Linked DNA regions of Homo sapiens: region 2 is linked to region 1. Evidence: promoter capture Hi-C in 16 types of primary human blood cells and fetal thymus (Javierre and others, 2016). All regions are on one chromosome and are shown on one strand. The core of a region is centred on a gene start or on the middle of the fragment in contact, and the rest is flanking DNA. Distances in the headings are between cores, read along the strand shown. Region 1 holds the start of COMMD2 (COMM domain containing 2). Region 2 has its middle 8.5 kb from the start of TM4SF18.

What was found. The method cuts DNA at HindIII sites, captures the fragments that hold promoters and counts their contacts. A CHiCAGO score of 5 or more calls a contact.
Region 2: a contact is called between a fragment that was not itself captured here and the fragment with the promoter of COMMD2 in region 1, in 1 of 17 cell types (M2 macrophages). The highest score is 6.3, in M2 macrophages.

What each region holds. Positions count from the first base shown.
Region 1 is chr3:149,751,239-149,754,929 of GRCh38, reverse strand. It overlaps COMMD2 (COMM domain containing 2), which reads left to right and starts at 2,441. Exons shown (of 5, transcript NM_016094.4): 1 at 2,441-2,552; 2 at 2,643-2,720; 3 at 3,445-3,527. The coding sequence starts at 2,486. RefSeq lists a silencer at 2,216-2,285. The HindIII fragment of the contact is 1,089 bases long and covers 1,825-2,913 here.
Region 2 is chr3:149,340,314-149,343,864 of GRCh38, reverse strand. No RefSeq gene overlaps it. Among named protein-coding and RNA genes, the nearest start is that of TM4SF18, 8.5 kb to the right of the region's middle. RefSeq lists an enhancer at 3,157-3,551. The HindIII fragment of the contact is 1,872 bases long and covers 540-2,411 here.

The sequences.
Region 1 (3,691 bases), core at 1,192-3,691:
TTTAATGTGAATTTATTAGTTCATCTGAGCATCATAACAGCCCTGCATGGCACAGAAGGGCAGTATTAAAATGCCAGTTTTACAGACGAAGAGGCTATGGTTATAACATAAAAACAACTTATTAGAAGTCATACAGGTAGTGTCAGAGCCAGATCTGGAATCTAGAGTTTTGAATTTTCACTCAGGTAATTTTTTCTAAACAATTATATCACTTATGGCAACAGAAGTCACTCTATAAATTATCCTGGGGTGTTTTAACTCCCAGGCTGGTTTTTCTTGGATATAACTTGGTTTCTTTCTTTTTTTTTTTTTTGACAGTGTCTGACTCTGTCACCCAGGCTGGAGTGCAGTGACTCAAATCTTGCTCACTGCAACCTCTGCCTCGCAGGTTCAAGCAATTTTCATGCCTTGGGCTACCAAGTAGCTGGGACCACAGGTACATGCCACCAAGCTTTGCTAATTTTTGTATTTTTAGTAGAGATGGGGTTTTACCATGTTGGTCAGGCTAGACTTGAATTTCTGGCCTCAAGTGATCCTCCCGCCTTGGCCTTCCAAAGTGCTGGGTTTACAGGCATCAGCCACCATACCTGGCCTAACTTGGTTCCTTGACCACCTTTTTTAGACAGCCTATTGTGCTACTCCCTAGTCTCACCTTCACCTCGCCTGTCCTCACTTCATTCCCTGAGATTACAGACAAGAAAGGCCATTTCATATTGGCATAATATTGTGTCTATTTGCAAATTCATTTCAGCATTCCTACTCCCTATATATGTACAGTTCTTGAATACCTCTTTTGAATCAGTTGAAACTGGTTTTTACTGTAATCTCTCATTAATTACAGAATGCTGTAATTCTCTCATTAATTAACTAGTTCAATACATTTTTTGACATGTGTTCATTGTACACTTGTAGAAGAATCATGATTTTACCTTTTCTGAAAATTATTCTTTAATAATGGATGTTTTCTCAATAATGTGTGAATAAAGGCAACTTCAGGAAATGATGCAATTTTTGCTAATCTGCAATTCACAGTCTAAGTAAAAGTTGTGTTCTCTCTGCAAATGCTACTTCAAGAACTAACTAATAAGTTCAAGGACCTGTCTTTCTGTGTCCCAGTGGAAGAAACAATTTCAGTCAGATGTGAAGGACAAAGTAGACACAGAGAAGTGAATTGAAAAACTCTTCCAATTTTTAGTCTGCCTGGGAGACTCAGAATATAGAGTTGTCTCAAGCCTTAGATAGAAAAGACAGATATGAAGAGTCTTCTTCCCTTCCCCTCTCTTCCTCCACACCCTCCATTTTCAAGGGGTTAAGATTTGAAGAATCATATTCCTATCAATTAGCAACTTTATCATCTCTGATATTTGAACCACAGCAGGTGAGAAGAGAGTTGGAAAAGGAACTAAATTATCACAGGCGCTAAATACTTTTTAAAAGGCATTGCTCTGGGCCAGGTGTGGTGGTTCATGCTTGTAATCCCAGCACTTTGGGAGGCCAAGTTGGCTGGATGACTTGAGGTCAGGAGTTCAAGACCAGCCTGGCCAACATGGTGAAAACCCGTCTCTACTAAAAATACAAACATTAGCCAGGCATGGTGGTGGGCGCTTGTAATACCAGCTACTCGGGAGGCTGAGGCAGGAGAATCGCTTGAACCCGGGAGGCAGAGGTTGCAGTGAGCCGGGCGACAGAGCGAGACTCCATGTAAAAAACAAAACAAAACAAAACAAACAAACAAAAACATTGCTCTGAATCCTGTAAGCATCGGTCATTGTCATCATTATCTTTATCCTAATTTATAATCACTCATAAAACTTGTCAGAAGCTTTCAGCTTTCAGGCTGTTATGTAGAAGGATGGGCTTTGCAGCAGGTAAGTGAGGGATCCAACCCTCTCCATCTAACTCTGTCACAGGCTTTGTCACATAATCTCTGGAGCTTTGTGTCTTATCTGTAAAAACAAAGCCATGTTTGTTGAGGATATTAACTGAGATACATTTAAGATAACATAGAAGCTCTGGAAACTATTAGCTTTATAAAAGTGTCAGTTGCTGGACTTGTCTATCAGTTTCCTTATCTCTAATGGAAATTATAATGGAACCTACCTCATAGGGTTCTTCTGAACTCCAAATGTATTTAATAAATGTAAGAACACTTCCTGACACGGTTAGTGCTTAACAAATGTGAACTATTGATATTATTAATGTATGCTCCACGAGGGGGCGTGTCGGATTTGAAACACCTTTTCATCTCCCATAGAGCCTAGCACCTTGCACCCAGCAGGCGCTCACTGCATCTTTGCGGGATGATTTCAATGTTCTGACCTCAGCCTGCGCTGCAGGGAACGTCCGAGTGTAACGCGTTAGTTCGTAGGCCGGAACCCAAAGCTCCGGACGCTGCGACGCCGGAGCCTCTAGGCGCCGGGACACGGGCGCCGGAAGTGGCGAAGGCGGGGTCGGCGCTGCCGGGTGAAATCGTAGGACAGTGAAGATGCTGCTGGAATTGTCCGAGGAGCATAAGGAACACCTGGCCTTCCTGCCTCAAGTGGACAGCGCGGGTCAGCGGGCGTGGGGGCGGTGTTCTGTGGGCTGGGGAGGAGGTCAAAGGCAGCGCCTGGCACTCAACAGCCTTCTGACTTTCATTGCAGTGGTCGCCGAGTTTGGGCGGATTGCTGTGGAATTCCTGAGACGCGGCGCAAACCCAAAAATCTACGAAGGCGCCGCCAGTAAGAAGGGAAAGGGGAAGGCTCCGCAGGCTTCTAGGGCGGTTGCGAGCCATTCCCTGTCTCCCGGGAGAGAAACGGATTATTGCGAGTCCTAGGGTCTTGTTCCGATTGTAGTAGAATAAAACCAGCAGAGCTCTTCAGTCAGGGTGCAAATCCTGCCCGTCCCTTAAGTAGCTGTGAGATTGTTAAAGCTTCTATTAAATCAGTTTTCTCATGGTAAAATGTACATAATACCACCTTACTTTCAGAAATACTGAAAAGTGTTTTGTATAAATATACCAAAGTCTGTGGAATAGCTGGGTCAACTGTAAATTGCAAGTATTTGGTTATCATTATTAGTTGTTCAGATATCCGCTTTTGCTAAAAAAAAAAAAAAAAGTGTTGTTTTACCCCTGGGTAAGAGGCAGTCTCTGGGATTAAGTCAATCCCTGTCGAGTTCCTCTTCTGCCAGACTTGAAGGAGCTACGTATTCAAGAGAAGGGCTACGCACCTGATACTAGTCTCCACAGTTCTGCATTTTGTTAAGGTTACTTGGTGGGAAATACCAAAGGCATTTGGCTGGGAGTGGAATGACAAGGAGCAGGAGCCTCTGGCCAACTTACTGTTTTTCATGCAGTGTTTGAAAACATGTAATAATGAATAGTGTTTATTTTTAAATACAAATATGAACAAGATAAATACTACAGTAGTAATTTATTTGCTCGTTTTTACTTTTCTTTCTCAGGAAAACTCAATGTGAGTAGTGACACTGTCCAGCATGGTGTGGAAGGATTAACGTATCTCCTCACTGAGAGCTCAAAGCTCATGGTAAGGGATTTTCTGGACTGTTTTGTGTTGGCTGGATTCTTAAGAACGGTCTGGTGTACTCTACATCATAGTCCTGGCAGGTACCTGTGTGTTTTAATAATGTTGTTAATGGTTTATAATTGATTTTTTGAAGACATACCTAAAAAATAAAAATCATATCATCT
Region 2 (3,551 bases), core at 226-2,725, 410 kb after region 1:
GTAAGTTAATATAGCAAAAGCATTTAACAATGGCTGTCATTTACTATCAGCAGCATCATTATTATTCTGAAGTATGAAACTCATACTTGATGCAGTAAGGAAATTTCTCAATGTTTTTCCCACAAATCAAGCAGTACAAAGATTTACAGTGAAAAGTAAGTTTCTGTCTCACATCTGAGCCTCCTCATCCAGTTTTTCTCCCTAGATACGACTGTTACCAGCTGTGGCATTTATGAACCTATTGCCTTTCTGTGCCAAATGCACCCTTCCTTTCTCTGCTTGAGATACTGAAACATCTTTCCTTTGCCAGCTGACACAGTGTTAAGTTTTGCCAGTAGAAGACCTGGAGGGACTCTGGAAGAAAAAGGGGATTATCTTCCTTCCTGATTCTTGTAGACTTTCTGCTCTTGCTTCTGTGGTGCTGGGCTGGTATGTGAGCGACGCAGTGATGGAGCTCACGCCAACAAGTTTCATGGGTGCCCCAGCTGGTTTCCCTGTGGCCAGTTCCTCAATGGTCCTGCAGCAGCATCCTGGAAGCTTTCCAGTGTGTCCCCACCATGGCCCAACCAGTTTCCCACAAGTTCAACAGCACTCCCCATGGGCAGTTTCCCCATGAATTTTGTCAGCACCCCTCAGCCATTGATTTCTTGCCTGCCAGCCTCAGCCTGCTGGTTTCCCACTGGGGGAATTTCCACCTTGCCAGCCCTGGCTTATGACTCCCAACCTGTCAACTGTGGATCAGCTCTGACCTGGAGCAATCCAGCAAAATGCACACCCAGAGGGCTGCACCCTCTCCCAGGAAGTCTGGATCCAACCTTGAGGGGCACCCCTTCCAAGCTCATTTCTTCCTCGGGTACTCTTTGTCAGCCCAAAGGTATTCTTCAGAGTTCTCTTAGTGTTCCTCTTTAGTAATTCCCTGTAAATAATCATTCTTCATATTAAACCTTCTGTATTCAAATTACTTGTGGTTTCTGTCCCCTGAATGGCTCCTGACTAATGCAGCAGCTTCCTGTTGTAGTCTTCCAGAGATCTTTTATGCTTATGCAAGTGTATGTGTGTATACACATGCTTTTGTTATGTAATGGGAACACTTTATATACAGTCTTTTTCTTTTTTTTGAAAATAGAGTCTCTTTTTGTCATTATAACCTCGAACTCCTGGGCTCAAGCCATCCTCTTGCCTCAGTCTTCTGAGTAGCTGGGACTACAGGTGTGTGCCACCATGGACAGCTAATTTTTAAATCTTTTGTAGAGTCAGGGTCTGGTTATGTTGCCCAGGCTGGTCTCAAACTTTTGGACTCAAGTGATCCTCCCGCTTTGGTCTCCCAAAGTGCTAGGATTACAGGTGTCAGCCACTGTGCCCAGTCACATGTTTGTTTGTTTGTTTTTAAACTTAGCCATCATTGCATATCAGCAAAAATATATTTATCTCATTTTTAACAATCGTATAGTAATTCATTGCATAAATAATTCCATAATCTATTTCACCAGTTTTCTATGGATGGAGAGATAGATTTCCAGTCCTTTCTTTCCACAGTAGAATTCTTATTTGATAGGTTTGTATGCCCATGTGCAAACATATCTTATCTGAAAAATTATTCCTGGAAAAGATTCTACTCTTAAATTATCTCCGCGTTCAGTGCCACCACCATATTATAGGTGTTCCTCATTTATAAAAGATGGATGTCTAGTATTTTTTATTGATTAGAATTAAGAAATCATTTTTATACATTTTAATTGTTTAAAGAACATATAAAATCAATGAAAAATATATCCCAAGGAAGTGCTTCGAGACAGGCATGCCCATGCCTATATAGACACAGAGAAACTTAACTCTGTGTGATCCTAGAACACAAATTTTTTATTGAGAATCCTTTACAGTTTTTAAAGTTATACACATTTAAAGTTAATAATATTTGTGCCAAATTAGCCTCTGCCTCCATTCAAGTTGCTATAATGAAATATTTTAAACCCACTAATTTACAAACAACAAAAATTTATTTCTCACAATTCTAGAGTCTGAGCATGTAACTGAGTGTCTACTAGGGTATTCTTTTGCAACTACTTTTTACAAAAATTTCAGGAAAGTGGAAAAACTAGTACAATGAACATTCAGATTTAAGTCCAACAATTGTTAATATTTTGTCACATTTGCTTCATTTATCTATCTACCATTCTTCTCCTCCTCTTCCTCCTCCTTCTCCTTATTCTTTTGCTAAACCATTTCAGGGAGGAAGACATATGCATCTCCAAAAATTTAGAGCAACTCCTTCATAACACCATCATTACATCCAAGTTAATAACAACCTTCTAATATTGTCTAATACGGTCTACATTCATACATTCGTATTTTTCCAATCATCCCCAAAATGTGTCTCACCATGTTTTGCCAAACCAATATCCAATCAAGCTTCACACTGCATTTATCTACCAGTGAATATCTAGCTTTTTTTTTTTTGTAACAGGATCTCACTCTGTCACCCTGGTTGAAATACAGTGGCACAATCACGGCTCACTGCAGCCTCATTCTCCCAGGCTCAAGCGATCTTCTCACCTCAGCCTCCCAAATAGTTGGGACTACAGACATGTGCCACCATGCCTGGCTAATTTTTAAAAAATTTTATGCAGAGACGAGGTCTTGCTATGTTGTTCAGGCTGGTCTCTAACTCCTGGGCTCAAGTGATCCTCCTGCCTCAGTCTCCTGAAGTGTTGAGATTACAGGAATGAGCCACCACACCTGGCAACATTTAGCTTTGATTGAGGCTCAGTTTACCTAGATACTTGCATCTTAACCTTGAAGACTCAGTTTTGTCCTCCAGACTTCCAAGAAATCTCACTTGAACTCCAGCTCCATTCAAGGTTCCTGTGTCTTTCAAAAAGCCTATGGTTAAATCTACTGGATATTCAACATTTTGTATTACGAATTTGTTGTTTAACTTTTTTATTTCCTCAACTAGACTCTGAGCATTTTGAAGGAATGGGTGTTCTTTGCCTCAGTCATCATGTGTCATCATGTAAATGTTCAATACACGTTTTAAGAATAAATGACTGAATACAGTTCCTTCCTCCCCTACTATGAAGAGCTTGAATAAATAAATTAATTCTAGGAGGCTGGGAGCCAGTCAGAAGGGAGTAAAGGGAGGTTCAACAATGGTCTGAGAGGACATTTCAAATACAGAAAGCTGCTTTGGGGAACTTTGAATAGAAACAGGAATACTCTTCTCCCTGTCTCAGTAGGGAAAGAGCTTAATGTTTATCATTAGTTAGAGATAAACCTGGAATTTATTGGCACTATGGACATTTTGGCCAGATAATTCTAGAGAAAGGATTATAAACACAACAGTCAGGAAAACTGCATCAAAACAGCACACTTCTGTTTACACAGCTGCCCTGCTGCTGCTTGTCTAATGTGTTTTTAAGCAAACATTCATTCCCAGTGGGTCCCTAAATTGGACCCAGACCAGTGCTTTATGCCCATGCTCCATGGAAGAAATCACAGTTTATCTACTTTAAACTCTCAAGGTGAAATTTCTCCCTGAATATTAGCCTTTT